Linked DNA regions of Homo sapiens: region 1 is linked to region 2. Evidence: promoter capture Hi-C in human tissues and cell types (Jung and others, 2019). All regions are on one chromosome and are shown on one strand. The core of a region is centred on a gene start or on the middle of the fragment in contact, and the rest is flanking DNA. Distances in the headings are between cores, read along the strand shown.

The links. The method cuts DNA at HindIII sites, captures the fragments that hold promoters and counts their contacts. A contact is called where the count stands out against the background at its distance.
Region 1: a contact is called between a fragment that was not itself captured here and the fragment with the promoter of OVCA2 in region 2, in 2 of the 25 tissues and cell types used here (aorta and thymus).

Annotation. Positions count from the first base shown.
Region 1 is chr17:2,122,472-2,129,362 of GRCh38, forward strand. The region is part of intron 13 of SMG6 (SMG6 nonsense mediated mRNA decay factor); the gene reads right to left. It also overlaps the pseudogene MCUR1P1. Among named protein-coding and RNA genes, the nearest start is that of SMG6-AS1, 36 kb to the left of the region's middle. RefSeq lists enhancers at 168-227, 1,433-1,482. The HindIII fragment of the contact is 3,207 bases long and covers 1,504-4,710 here.
Region 2 is chr17:2,040,772-2,047,545 of GRCh38, forward strand. It overlaps OVCA2 (OVCA2 serine hydrolase domain containing), which reads left to right and starts at 1,251. Exons shown (of 2, transcript NM_080822.3): 1 at 1,251-1,460; 2 at 1,834-2,654. The coding sequence starts at 1,277. The coding sequence ends at 2,333. It overlaps DPH1 (diphthamide biosynthesis 1), which reads left to right. Exons shown (of 13, transcript NM_001383.6): 10 at 332-410; 11 at 710-850; 12 at 997-1,104; 13 at 1,834-3,127. The coding sequence ends at 1,086. RefSeq lists silencers at 754-843, 1,354-1,553 and an enhancer at 1,104-1,163. The HindIII fragment of the contact is 24,727 bases long and covers 1-6,774 here.

The DNA.
Region 1 (6,891 bases), core at 1,857-4,356, 84 kb after region 2:
AAGAAGTCTTCAGCTTGCTGTGTCCTAACACTGGATCGCATATAAATCCCCAAATTCTAAAGGCTAGAAAGGTTTAAAATGTAGATGCAGCTTCAATATCCAGGAGGCAGAACTAAGAACAAGAGATGTAAATCTAGCTCTGGCAGTGGGAAGCGGGGCGGGGGGCAATGGCGAAGCTAAGTTAGAAGCCGCGAGCCACTTAGCCTCTCCAGCTCCAGTAGTTCTGTGTCTGGACGTCGGCCCCATATACTGGCTTAAAACCTCAAGATACTAGAGGATCTCACCAGTGGGAGGTGCCAGAGCAGCTGAAACATGTCCCTGTAAACAATAAATGTTTATCTGGGCAGATAACCTGGCAGACAGCCTTATTCTCATCTTAGGCAACTCGAAACTCCACAACAGGAGACTGAGCACAGAGGGGCCCCTTCCTCTTTGCCACATGGGTAGGAAGCAGAGATGGAGGTGGTCCTGGCTCCTACCACATGAGGGGTGGCAGAAAGCCACTCTCTGTAAATGCCAGCTTCTTCCCTGCTGGATGATGGCCAGATTCCCTTAAACACAGAGGGTGGGGACAGAGAAGTCAAGTGAAGCAACGCTAGACAATGCTGCCGCATAACGCTGGCTGCTCCACCGCAGCCCTGAAGGTATGAGGAAACCCTGGCGTGTTGGCGGCTGCCTCAGGAACCGCGCTGGCTAAGGGCTTCCCCAGGCCTGGGTGGGAGGCTTGTCACTGACTCTGGCCACACACATAGGCTTGGTCGCCACCTCGGTCAGTGGCAAACAGCTGCTGAGAGGGGAGGGGAGGAGTAGACCCAGGGGTGCTGTGTGCTGCACAGCCAAATCTTCCACTTCTGGAGACTCCAAACGATATTCCTAAGAGCCATATGGCTTAAACCCCATGGAGGTACCAGGAAAAAGGCAGTACGACGGAAAGAGGCAGCTGGAAGGAAGGAATGGAAGTGTGTTAACGGCACAGAAACTCCTTTCATTGACAATTAACTGCAAACAATTTTATTACCAGTTCTGAAACCCCAATCCCTAACTGATGAATTAAATCTTGGCAATGGTTATTCCTCCCACCTATACACTTCTGCCCACACTCTTCTTGGAAGGAGAGAGGACAGGGAAGTGAAACCCACAGTATGCCAAAAGGGAAGTCGAGCTCTCATTCATAAGACTACTAAGCTCTCTCCCAGGGAAGAGAATGGAGATGGCACAACAAAGGCTCTTTGCTCTGAAATAGCACCGAAGTGAAGCCCGGCAGAGCCAGGGTGTGGATCTTGGATGGAGTGCAGAGGAGGAGTGTGTTTGTGTATATGTTTGTGCTCATCTGGTTTTTGTTGGGGGAAGGTGACAATTCATTCTTTTGATTTCATTCAAACTTAGAGCTGCTTTTATAATCACTTCCTGAAAACAGAGCAGGAAGAGAGTGCTATCTGCTCACCCCACCCTCCATTTAACACTGCCCCAGCAATCCAACTATGTGCTTTACACTGAGAGGCCAGCTTCTTGCCTTTGGCAGCACTGAAGGCCAGACATTACCAGCACTCCTGTGTACAGCTCAAGGCTCCACCCAAATCAGACTGCACACACTGAATCCAAGAGGAATATCATTCCAGAACAACAACCCAGGAGAGAGAGAGGAGAGCTGAGCAGGCTGGGTGGGACAGTTGGGGCACTTCTAACTTCTGACACCAGGACACCCAAGTGGTTGGCAGAGGCATTTTGGTAGTGCGGTGACAGATCAACTGTAGTGTGGGAAATCCCAAATGCTACAGTAAAGAAGTTATCTCTGTACAAAGAAAGGGGTGACAATAAGGGTGGGGTACAGGCCACAGGGCAGTAAGGTAGAGAAATCAGTTTTAGCGAACTGGCTAACTACTGGGTTAGTCCAATTCTGAATACACAAGTAATATTCTAGCCTCTTTTCAGGAGAGACTGATGTAGAGTAGTCATGGGCAGGCCAGGGAACAAAGTTCCATTTCTGGCCTAAAGTGGATTGGAGGGTTCCTCCGCAGAGAGTCGTAACAGAGTGTTTATATAAAACCCCACAAACCCACTGCTCCTGGCTGTCCAAGGCCAAAGGCATCTTCTTCCTGGAGAGCTGTGTCTCTTACCCTCTAGGCTCTAAGACTCCCTATTTTACTTAGTCAGGTTTCCTGTTTACTCTGAGACCTGTGATCTCCCCGGGGAGTCATTAGAGAGAAGCTGGGGAAGGGGCAGCAGGGAGACGGAACAGTACTAAGGACACAGGTCTTCCGCATCCTACCATTACTTCTTACATGGCAGAAAAACGAATGGACACTGAAAGGGGGTTTCCTGGTTTAATTAATTATTTACAGCGTTTATTCTTTATTTTTTGTTTCTAACGTGCAGGCATCTCTTAGACTGCTGACCCTCAAGGAAAATGCAATTGGGAGCACAACCATGATTGGCACCGAAAGGCATTTTTTGTTGCTGTTCCCATGAGAACCCCATCAGAATGATGAACAAGGTACATACGCTGCTATAAAATAATCAGCATCTCCATTTGGAGAAGGAATTTCTTTTAAAAACACCTCATTTGGGGCACTATGGTCTCTTCTTCTATGGAAATAGGAAGAGGCAGAAGGAGTTCCATTCCTGCCAGAGCAGAGTCTACTTTTTGCTAATTTTTTGGAAAACAAGAGGTTCTCTTTGGCTCTGGAGAAAAACAGACATTTCCAAAGGGAAAATAGAGAAGGAGACAGGGTCTGATGTGGCAAGACTTGTAGCCCTCTCATATCTCCGAGACAGAGATAACCTGGAGGGACCGAAACCCCCTATTTATTCACCCTTCTAACCATGCATTCCATACAATCCAGACATCCTGAGACCAATGATGATTCAGATACTACAAGGCCTCTGAAGACGTCACTACGATCCTACGATTTAGGAAGAAAAGAAAATCTGAGGATAATTCTCTTGGGCTTGCTGGCCAATAGGATGATGATTAGCTACAATATGGCCAAACAAATTTAAATTTCCTAAAATTGAATATAATTAAAAACGGAGTTCCAATAAATGGAAAAACATTCTATGTTCATGAATTGGAAGACTTAATATTGTTAAGCTGACTACAGTAACCAAAGCAATCTACAGATTCAATGCAGTTCCTATCAAAATCCCAATGGCATTTTCCACAGATCCATAAAAACATCTTAAAATTCATATGGAATCTAGCTGGATGCAATGGCTCATGCCAGTAGTCCCAGCACTCTGGGAGGCCAAAGCGGGCAGATTGCTTGAGGTCAGGAGTTGGAGACCAGCCTGGTCAACATGGCAAAACACCGTCTATACTAAAAATACAAAAATCAGCTGGGTGTGGTGGCGCATGCCTGTAATCCCAGGTACTTGGGAGGCTGAGGCACAAGAATCGCTTGAACCTGAGAGGCAGAGGTTGCAGTGAGCTGACATTGTGCCACTGCACTCCAGCCTGGGAGATGGAGTGAGAACCCATCTCAAAAAAAAAAAAAAAAAAATCATATGGAATCTTAAGGGACCCCATACAGCCAAATTAATCGTGAAAAAGAACAAAAGTTAAAGGGCTCATGCTTCTGGATTTCAAAACTTACTGCAAAACTATACTAATCAAAACGGTGTGGTACTGGCATAGAATAGAACAGAAAACCTAGAAGTAAACTCTCACAAATACAGGGTCAACTGACTTTTGACAAGGGTGTCAAGACCAATTCCAATCTTATGGAAGGAATAGTCTTTTCAATAAAAAGAGCTTAAAAAAACCTGGATATTCACATGCAAAAGAATGAAGCTGAACCCTTACCTAAGACCATATACAAAAACAAATTCAAAATGGATCAAAGACCTAAAAAGAGCTAAAACTAGAAAACTCTTAGAAGAAAGCATAAGGGAAAATCTTTATGACACTGGATTTGGCAATGATTTCTTGGATATGACATCAAAAGCATAGGAAACAAAAGAAAAAAATAAGCAGACCAGACACAGTGCCTCATATTTGTAATCCCAGCACTTTGGGAGGCTGAGGCAGGCAGATCACTTGAGGTCAGGAGTTGAGACCAGACTGGCCAACATGGTGAAACCCCATCTCTACTAAAAATACAAAAACTAGCCAGGTGGGCCCCTGTAATCTCAGCTATTTGAAAGGCGGGGCACAAGAATCACTTGAACCCGGGAGGTGGAGGTTGCAGTGAGCCAAGATCAAGCCACTGCACTCTGGCCTGGGCAACAGAGTGAGGCTCAGTTTCAAAAAAAAAAAAAAAAAAGCAAACTGGACTTTATCAAAATTAAACACTTTTGTGCATCAAAGGTGGAAACTCACACCAGTAATCTCAGCACTTTGGGAGGCTATGGTGGGACGATCACTCGAGGCTGAGGAGTTCAAGAGAAGCTTTGACAACATGGGGAGACCCTATTTCTACACACACACGCACACACATGCACACAGACACAAACATACATGCACACATGCGCACACATGCACACACACACATATACGCGTGAACACACGCGTGCATATAATTAGCTGGGTGTGGTGGTACGTGCTTGTGGTCCCAGCTACTTAGGAAGCTGAGGTGGGAGGATCCCTTGGGCTTGGGAGTTCGAGGCTGCAGTGAGCCGTAATGGTGACACTGCACTCCAGCCTGGGCAACACAGAGAGACCTTGTCTCAAAAAAAAAAAAAAAAAAAAAAAGACAAATATTGCATGATTCTACTTATATGAGATACTTACAATAGGGAAATGCATAGAGCTAGAAAGTAGAAGTTGCCAGGGGAAGGGGGAATGAGGAGTTACTGTGTAATGGTTACGGCGTTTGGAATGATGAAGAGTTCTGGAAATGGATAGTAGTGATGGTCGCACAACACTGTGAATGTACTTAATGCCACTGAGTTGTACACTTAAGAAATGGTTGAAATGGTAAATCCTTTTCCCCCCCTCTTTAAATAGACACTTTATTAGATCCACAGGTGATAAAATCCCAGAGCTACTGTTAGGCACGTAAATATAGACCCTGCTAAATATTTAATATTATCAAGCTTGTATGACTCAAGCATGGTTTTGGGGCCAGCATCCTCAGTTTCTATCTTCCTATCTCTCTGGGTGACGGCCCAATCTTGCTGGGCATGCAATGTCACTATTTCTGTTCTCAATTCCAGCAGCTTCCTTTCATTCAACGAATACAATTCTTTTACTCTGCTCTTTTCTAGGTTGAAGTCTAATTTAGTATCTGTTCGGACTTTAATCACTTCATCCATTACTTGTTTTAACTGATGTAGTTTGAGTTTTATTTTCTCACGTTCTGCTCTGAGGGCTGAAAATTCACTCTTCTCCAAAGTAATCATATCGTTTTTCACATTCACAGTCTGAGACATTATTTGCTGAAGAGCGATCTCCTGCTTCATCTTGGTGGCCATATCTTTGTAGACGATGTCCACGTTGGCCTCCAGTACCTGGACCAATGCAGACACAATGATTTCTGCTTGCTGAGTAGCAAACCCATGGTCTTCCAGAAAGCACACTAAGGAACGAGTGTCAAAGGAGAGCTTCCTACTCCCAGAAGAGCTGAAATCTCTCCTGTGCTCCAGCTGCAGGTATCCAGCAGACTCCTGCAGGAAGTGAGTATAGGCACCATGCTGAAGCATGGGTGAAGGGCGCTGGCAGCAGCAGCGATGCCCAGGGCAAGGCCCCACAGGCACATCCACGCGCCGCTTTGTCCAGCCAGTGGGGCGGCATACCCAAGGCACGAGTGCTCCCAGTCCCCAGGCTGCCGGCACGGAGCAGCGGCGGTCAAGTGCAGGGAGGGCACGAAATGGTAAATTTTATGTTGTGTATATTTTACCACAATTAAAAAAAATCATTTCTTCAGGTAGACCAGCCGCATTTCATGTGTTCAACAGCTACATGCGGCCAGTAGTTACCATACTAGACGGTGTCAAGTAGAACACTTTCCCCACTGCAGAAAGTGGTACTGGACAGGATGGCTCTAGAGTTAGATTAAAAACCACCGGATTCTGATGTCAACGGTATTAACCTATACGCCAATCCAACTGCCTTATGCTGTATTCTGTATGCCACTATCCTGCCAATTTGTTATTCTAACAGCCTCTCCAAGCATTGTATACCCACTATTGCAAACTTGAGGTCAGGAGTTCGAGACTAGCTTGACCAACGTGGTGAAACCCCGTCTCTACTAAAAATACAAAAATTAGCTGGGCGTGGTGGCGTGCACCTGTAGGCCCAGCTACTTGGGAGACTGAGACAGGAGAATCACTTGAACCCAGGAGGTGGAGGTTGCACTGAGCCAAGATCGCGCCACGGCACTCTAGCCTGGGTGACAGAGCAAGACTCAAAAAAAAAAAAAAAAAGAGAGAGAGAGAAAGAAAGAAAGAAAGAGGAAGACAAAAAGACAGAAAAAGAAAGAAAGAAAGAAAATGGCATGCAAGCAGCAGAGTAAAAACCTTTAAGAAAATGAAAGAAATATGTTATCTCCCATGAAACAACTATGAGTCAAGAATATGCTCATTTTGAAGTTTGGGAGAGTACACTGGACTATTTTAGGAAGAAAATGATAGTTTTAAATTAGAATTTTATTACTGGGCTGGGTGGGGTGGCTCACACCTGTAATCCCAGCATTTTGGGAAGCCAAGGCAGGCGGATCGCTTGAGCCCAGGATGGCGAAACCCCATCTTTATTAAAAATACAAAAAAGTAGCCAGATATGGTGGCACATGCCCATAGTCTCAGTTACTCAGGAGGGTGAGGTGGGAGGGGCAAGCCCAGGGAGGTCGAGGCTGCAGTGAGCCATAATCGCACCACTGTACTCCAGCCTGGGCAATGGGAATAAGAACCTATTTTAAAAAAATTATTAATGTGTAACCCCATATAAACAGGTTA
Region 2 (6,774 bases), core at 1-2,500:
TTTGGGGCTCAGAGGCAATGGCAACATCACATTTGTCCTTGTGAGATGAGTTTGAGCGGTGGCTGACACCTGCCCTGTACCAGGTACTAAATGTGGTTCTGGGGATACTATCACCAGTGAGCTGCCCTGGAAAGCTCATTGTCGGCAGAGGAAACAGGAGAAAACACGCAACAATACAGTATTCCAAACAGCAGTGGGTCACTGTCTTTACTTTAGGATTCATAAAGCCTGTTAATGAATGGGTGTGCTGGGGGCACTGTCATGTTCTTCAGCATGCTGCCTGGGCGACGAGGAGGCCCTTCCTAGGGTCTGACCTGGCTTCCCTTCCCAGGTGGGTGCAGGTGGCATGTCCACGTCTCTCCATTGACTGGGGCACAGCCTTCCCCAAGCCGCTGCTGACACCCTATGAGGTAACACCAAGCTCTGGGAGAGAGTGGGCTTTGGACGTGGTTCTCAAAGGTGAGGTCTGGAGTGGAGTGGGGTGGGTGGGCAGCACTTCGTTATGTTCGTAGATTCCGGAGTCTGTCTCGATTTCTCCAGCGGAGTCACTTCCTAGCTGTGTAGCCTTAGGCAAGGCCCTGAACCACACAGTTCCCTTCTGTGGCAGGGGACAGTGTGCCCTTCACAGGCCGTCGTGAGGACTGAATTCAGTAATCCAGGGGCAGAAAAACACTGGCAGATGTTATTGTCCCTCCCTCCCCTCCCCTAGGCGGCCGTGGCTCTGAGGGACATTTCCTGGCAGCAGCCCTACCCGATGGACTTCTACGCTGGCAGCTCCTTGGGGCCCTGGACGGTGAACCACGGCCAGGACCGCCGTCCCCACGCCCCGGGCCGGCCCGCGCGGGGGAAGGTAGGCGGGGGCTTCCAGGAGGGAGGAGAGACCGCGCCTGGGCACTGGCCGCCGCCCTGCGACCGCGACGGGAAACGCACAGGAGCGGAGCGGAGGGAAACGCAGGGTCGCAGGAGCGAGACCCTAACCAAAGTCTGCGACCTCAGGTGCAGGAGGGGTCCGCGCGTCCCCCTTCGGCCGTGGCTTGCGAGGACTGCAGCTGCAGGGACGAGAAGGTGGCGCCGCTGGCTCCTTGACGCGCTCCCGGGCCTCAGGTATCAGCCCCCGCTCTGGGTGCGCCCCGCCTTTTGCCGTTGTCATGGGAACGCCTTGGCGCTCCGAGGCCCGCCCTCGGGGCGGTGCTGACGTTCGGTTCCGCCCCGTGCATTGTGCTTCCGCTCGGGGAAAGACCGCTTCCGGTGCTTCCGTCGCTCCTTGCCGGGCATAATGGCCGCGCAGCGACCCCTGCGGGTCCTGTGCCTGGCGGGCTTCCGGCAGAGCGAGCGGGGCTTCCGTGAGAAGACCGGGGCGCTGAGGAAGGCGCTGCGGGGTCGCGCCGAGCTCGTGTGCCTCAGCGGCCCGCACCCGGTCCCCGACCCCCCGGGCCCCGAGGGCGCCAGATCAGACTTCGGTGAGACAAGCCCCGCTCCGGAAACGCACTCAGTTTCCTCCATCTTGTTTCGTCCCCCTCGACACCCTTCAGCATCCCCCACCCTGCGTCCACCCGCATTCCTCCCACCCAGTCCACACCCTTCATTTCTCGCGACCCATACCCTCTTTGCTCAAACTGCAGCCTGTCCTCCCAGGCTTCCGCCTTCACCGTCTTCCTCCGCTGTCTCCTGTTCAGGCCAATCCACTCATTTCCCCCCTCTCATTTCCCCCAGACTTTTGCCTCGATTCCCTTTTTCTCTCTGTCATCTCGAACCCTCCTGCCCTTTCTCATTTCTTTCCTTCCTGGAGCCTCCCATGCCCTAATCCCATCCTTTTTCCTCATATCGCTGTAGGGTCCTGCCCTCCGGAGGAGCAGCCTCGAGGCTGGTGGTTTTCAGAGCAGGAGGCCGACGTTTTCTCCGCATTGGAAGAGCCCGCCGTCTGCAGGGGCCTGGAGGAATCACTGGGGATGGTGGCACAGGCACTGAACAGGCTGGGGCCTTTTGACGGCCTTCTTGGTTTCAGCCAAGGGGCTGCGCTAGCAGCCCTTGTGTGTGCCCTGGGCCAGGCAGGCGATCCCCGCTTCCCCTTGCCACGGTTTATCCTCTTGGTGTCTGGTTTCTGTCCCCGGGGCATTGGGTTCAAGGAATCCATCCTGCAAAGGCCCTTGTCATTGCCTTCGCTCCATGTTTTTGGGGACACTGACAAAGTCATCCCCTCTCAGGAGAGTGTGCAACTGGCCAGCCAATTTCCCGGAGCCATCACCCTCACCCACTCTGGTGGCCACTTCATTCCAGCAGCTGCACCCCAGCGTCAGGCCTACCTCAAGTTCTTGGACCAGTTTGCAGAGTGAAAGATCAAGAAATGTCTCTGCTCCTACATCCAGCTCCTCTAGGGGCAGCCTCCGTCATCCATGCCCTCCCAGGACCCTCCACTCACTGCTGTGAGTGCGCCTCACCAGAACCAGTTAAGAGACAACTATCAATTCTTGAGACCCAAATTATAAGGGCCCTGCCCTGTACTGAAGAAAAGGGGAGCACAAGGCCTTAATGGACATTGACTTGTGAAAACGCAAACATGAATATGGTTGGAGAGCCCTGGATTAGGAGGGTGACATGGGGAAGGCAGAGGCTGGCACCATGGTGACTGCCACATAATAAAGTGGTGATTTGGATTTTGAGCATCTTTTTCCTGGTACACACAGAAAAACATTTTATAATGGAAGTCGGTTTCTTGGCCATCTACATAGTTTTCTGGGCAGCGCCAAGCAGGGAGGTGTCTCCAGTTGTGAGTCCTCGGACAGGCTGCTGCATGGGTGCACATACTCACGTTATTGGTGGAAGTTTTAAGTCCCAAACTGAAGGGAAGGAGGCCTAGGTGGCACAATCAGGGAGGAATATACATCTGAGAAGTTTTGGGAAGACATCACCTGGCAAGGCTGCCTGAACCACAGTAATTTAGTCTTCCTCTATCCAGATCACTGAGAGTTGTGTGCTGGTCTTCTCTCAAACCCTGGATGTGTTACCTGCTTCTCCCTAAGTGCTCTAACCTCGCTGAACTATGAGCCTGAAGGGTGGGTCGATGCCAGACCTTAGGTGGAGGCCAAAGACAGTACAGAATAAACAGCTTCTTCCTAAATTGACCCCATCTTGAGGGTTTCTGAGATTGATGCCATTCTTTAGTGACTACAGCCAAGGCCTAAGCAATCCAGCTGGTTTTCCCCTTGGGGCGTGTAGTTGTTCTTGGATACTTTGAGGATTGCTCACTCTTTTTTTTTTTTTTTTTGAGACAGGCTCACTCTGTCACCCAGGCTGGAGAGCAGTGGCCAAGATCCTGGCTCACTGCAACCTCAGCCTCCTGGGTTCAAGCAGTTCTGTCTCAGCCTCCTGAGTAGGTGGCGTTACAGGCATGCGCCACCACGCCTGGCTAATTTCTATATTTTTTTGTAGAGATAGGGTTTTGCCACGTTGCCCAGGCTGGTCTCAAAACTCTTTAGCTCAAACAATCCACCTGCCTCAGCCTCCCAAAGTGCTAGGATTATAGGCCTGAGCCACTGCACCTACCTAGGATTGCCCACTCTTTTTTTGTTTTCTTTACTTTTAAAGACAAGGTCTGACTCTATCACCCAGGCTGGAGTGCAGTGGCACAATCTTGACAGCCTCCACCTCCCGGGCTCAAGCCATCCATCCTCCCACCTCAGCCTCCCAAGCAGCTGGGGCTGCAGGCGCAAATCACCATGCCTGGCTAATTTTTGTATTTGTTGTAGAGAAGGGGTCTCACCATGTTGTGCGGATGGTCTCCAACTTGCGAGCTCAAGCAATCCACCTGTCCTGGCCTCCCAAAGTGCTGGAATTAACAGGCGTGAGCCACCTCACCTGGCCAATTGCCCACTCTTAATGAGTTCCCTCCCATTTCCAGTGCCACCTGACACCCCCCACCCCCTGACACACACACACACACTCTTGTTTTCTGACTTCCTGCCTCTGCAAGACAAGAAGCCTGTTCTTTTTCTGGAAGATCACACCAACTCCTGTTTAGCCCTCAGACATAGTTGCCAGGGAGCTAAGCAACTGAGCAGGAATTATGGTCAGGGACACAGCACAAATACTCCAGCCCATTTTTCTGACAACCAGACTAATATCCCTTACATTACCGAAAGTTCTGGGTTCCTCACTACAGAGATTAGCTGTCCAAAATTAAAAAAAACAAAACAAAACAGAATTATCCGCCCAGAGACCTAGTTACTGGGTGTGGAAAGTGTGTGTGGGGAGGGGTGGGAGGTGGTTCTCCCTTGCTTCAGTTGGCTTCTGCCTTGTTTTAAGGAATCTTCTCCTTTAGCAAAAGGAGGAGACTTTGGAATGGATTGATTACACAGACTGTGGTATCTGACCCATTGAATTTTAGAAAAAATTCTGATTTAAAGTTTCAGAAATTGCACAGAAAATTTCAGATTTCTGGCTTCTCTGGAAATGATAGATTTGCAGTTCAGGGCTCCCATACCCTCATGGTAATCATAGGCTGCCCCCTTTAGCACGGTCCCAAGAGGTGAAAACGACTTGTACACCCCAGCTGCTTGGGATTATTGAGGACGAAAGTAGAGAGAAGGGGAGAAATATTGGGGAGTGAATTTTGAGCCAAGGCTTAAAATTAAAAGTGGGGGAGGTAGAGCCCAGCAGTAGTAGGTGGAGGAGAAGGGCTCCTGGCCGGGGGTGAGGATTCCTCCTGAGAACCATAGTGTCCAAGCTAGAGGGAAACATGGGGTCCACTAGTTCTCGACAAGTGGAACAGGTCACTTCCCATCATGCCGTCCAGGAGCAAGAGAGACTCTTAGGGGGTTGTGCCCCTCCCCACCCCCAATACGCAGATTCTGTGTACCATTTACATCCAGAACATTGGTTAAAACCTGAATTCTGGCCCTGCGTGGTGGCTCATGCCTGTAATCCCAGCACTTTGGGAGGCGGAGGCGGGCAGATCACCTGAGGTTGGGAATTTGAGGCCAGCCAGACCAACAGAGAGAAACTCTGTCTCTACTAAAAATACAAAATTAGCCAACCATGGTGGCGCATGCCTGTAATCCCAGCTACTTGGAAGGCTGAAGCAGGAGAATTGCTTGAACCTGGGAGGCAAAGGTTGCGGTAAGCCGAGATCACGCTATTGCACTCCAACCTGGGCAACGAGAGCGAAACTGTCTCAAAAAAAAAAAAAAAAAAAAGTAGCTGGGCGTGGTGGCATGCACCTGTAATCCTAGCTACTTGGTAGGCTGAGGCAGGAGAATTGCTTGAACCCAGGAGGCGGAGGTTGCAGTGAGCCGAAATTGTGCCACTGCACTCCAGCCTGGGTGACAGAGTGAGACTCCATCTCAAAAAACCAACTTGAATTCTGGGGCCAACTCCAGATGTACTGAGTCAGAATCACTGGGACCCAGGAATCTGCATTTTGGCAAATTGCCCCCATCATTCCCAAGCAGGGATTTGAAAAGCCACTGCCTTAGGGGTTGAATGAAAGCCTCGGGTGAGGGTGTGTTATCTGAAAAACCCCTAGTGTGACTCTCTTGCAACCCACCAGGGAGGGGAGCAAGCTCCCCAGAACAATCACTGCTTAAACATTTTCAATTTATAGCAAAGGAAAATTAGGTCTGAAGGATAGAAATAGGAATAGCATTTATTTATTTACTTACTTATTTGAGACGGAGTCTCGCTCTGTCACCCAGGCTGGAGTGCAGTGGTACAGTCTCCGCTCTCTGCGACCTCCGCCTCCTGAGTTCGAGCGATCCGCCTGCCTCAGCCTCCAGAGTAGCTGGGATTACAGGTGTGCATCACCACTCCCAGCTAATTTTTGCATTTTCAGTAGAGACAGGGTTTCGCCATGTTGGCCAGGCTGGTCTTGAACTCCTGATCTCAAGTGATTCGCCCACCTCAGCCTCCCAAAGTGTTGGGATTACAGGTGTGAGCCACTGCACCCGGCCAGAAGAGCATTTATTGAGTAATAACTGTATACCAGACATTGTAATAAGCAAGAGCTTTAATGCGGCCTAATTTAGGGCCAGGTGCGATTGCTCATGCCTATAATCCCAGCACTTTGGGAGGCTAAGGCATGAGGATCAATTGAGCCCAGGAGTTCAGAACCAGCCTGGGAAACATAGTGAGACCCCCTCTCTACAAATAATTTAAAAGTTAGCTGGGTGTGGTGGCATGCACCTGTGGTCCCAGCTACTCGGGAGGCTCAGGTGGGAGGATCACTTGAGCCCAGGAGTTTTGAGGCTGCAGTAAGCTGTGATTGTGCCACTGTATTCCAGCCTGGGAGACAGAGCTAGACCCTGTCTCCAAAAAAAAAGAAAAAAAAACAAACTACAAAAATTGGCTGGGGGTGGTGGCACACACCTGTAGTCCTAACTACTCAGGAGGCTGAGACAGGAGAATTGCTTGAACCTGGGAGGCGGACGTTGCAGTGAGCCGAGATCATGCTACTGCACTTCAGCCTGGGCAACAGAGCAAGACTCCATCTCAGAAGAAAAAAACAAATAAAATTATATATATATAACACATATATATTTTATATATATTAGGCAATAAATATATATAGCTTAAACCTTACAACTTCATGTTTAATCTCACAACTTCATGAGGTAGGTACCATTATTATTATTATTATTTGAGACGGAGTGTCACTCAGCCACCCAGGCTGGAGTTCAGTGGCACGATCACGGCTCACTGCACCTCCGTCTCCTGGGTTCAAGTGATTCTAGTGCCTCAGCCTCCCAAGCAGCTGGAATTACTGGCAAGCACCACCATGGC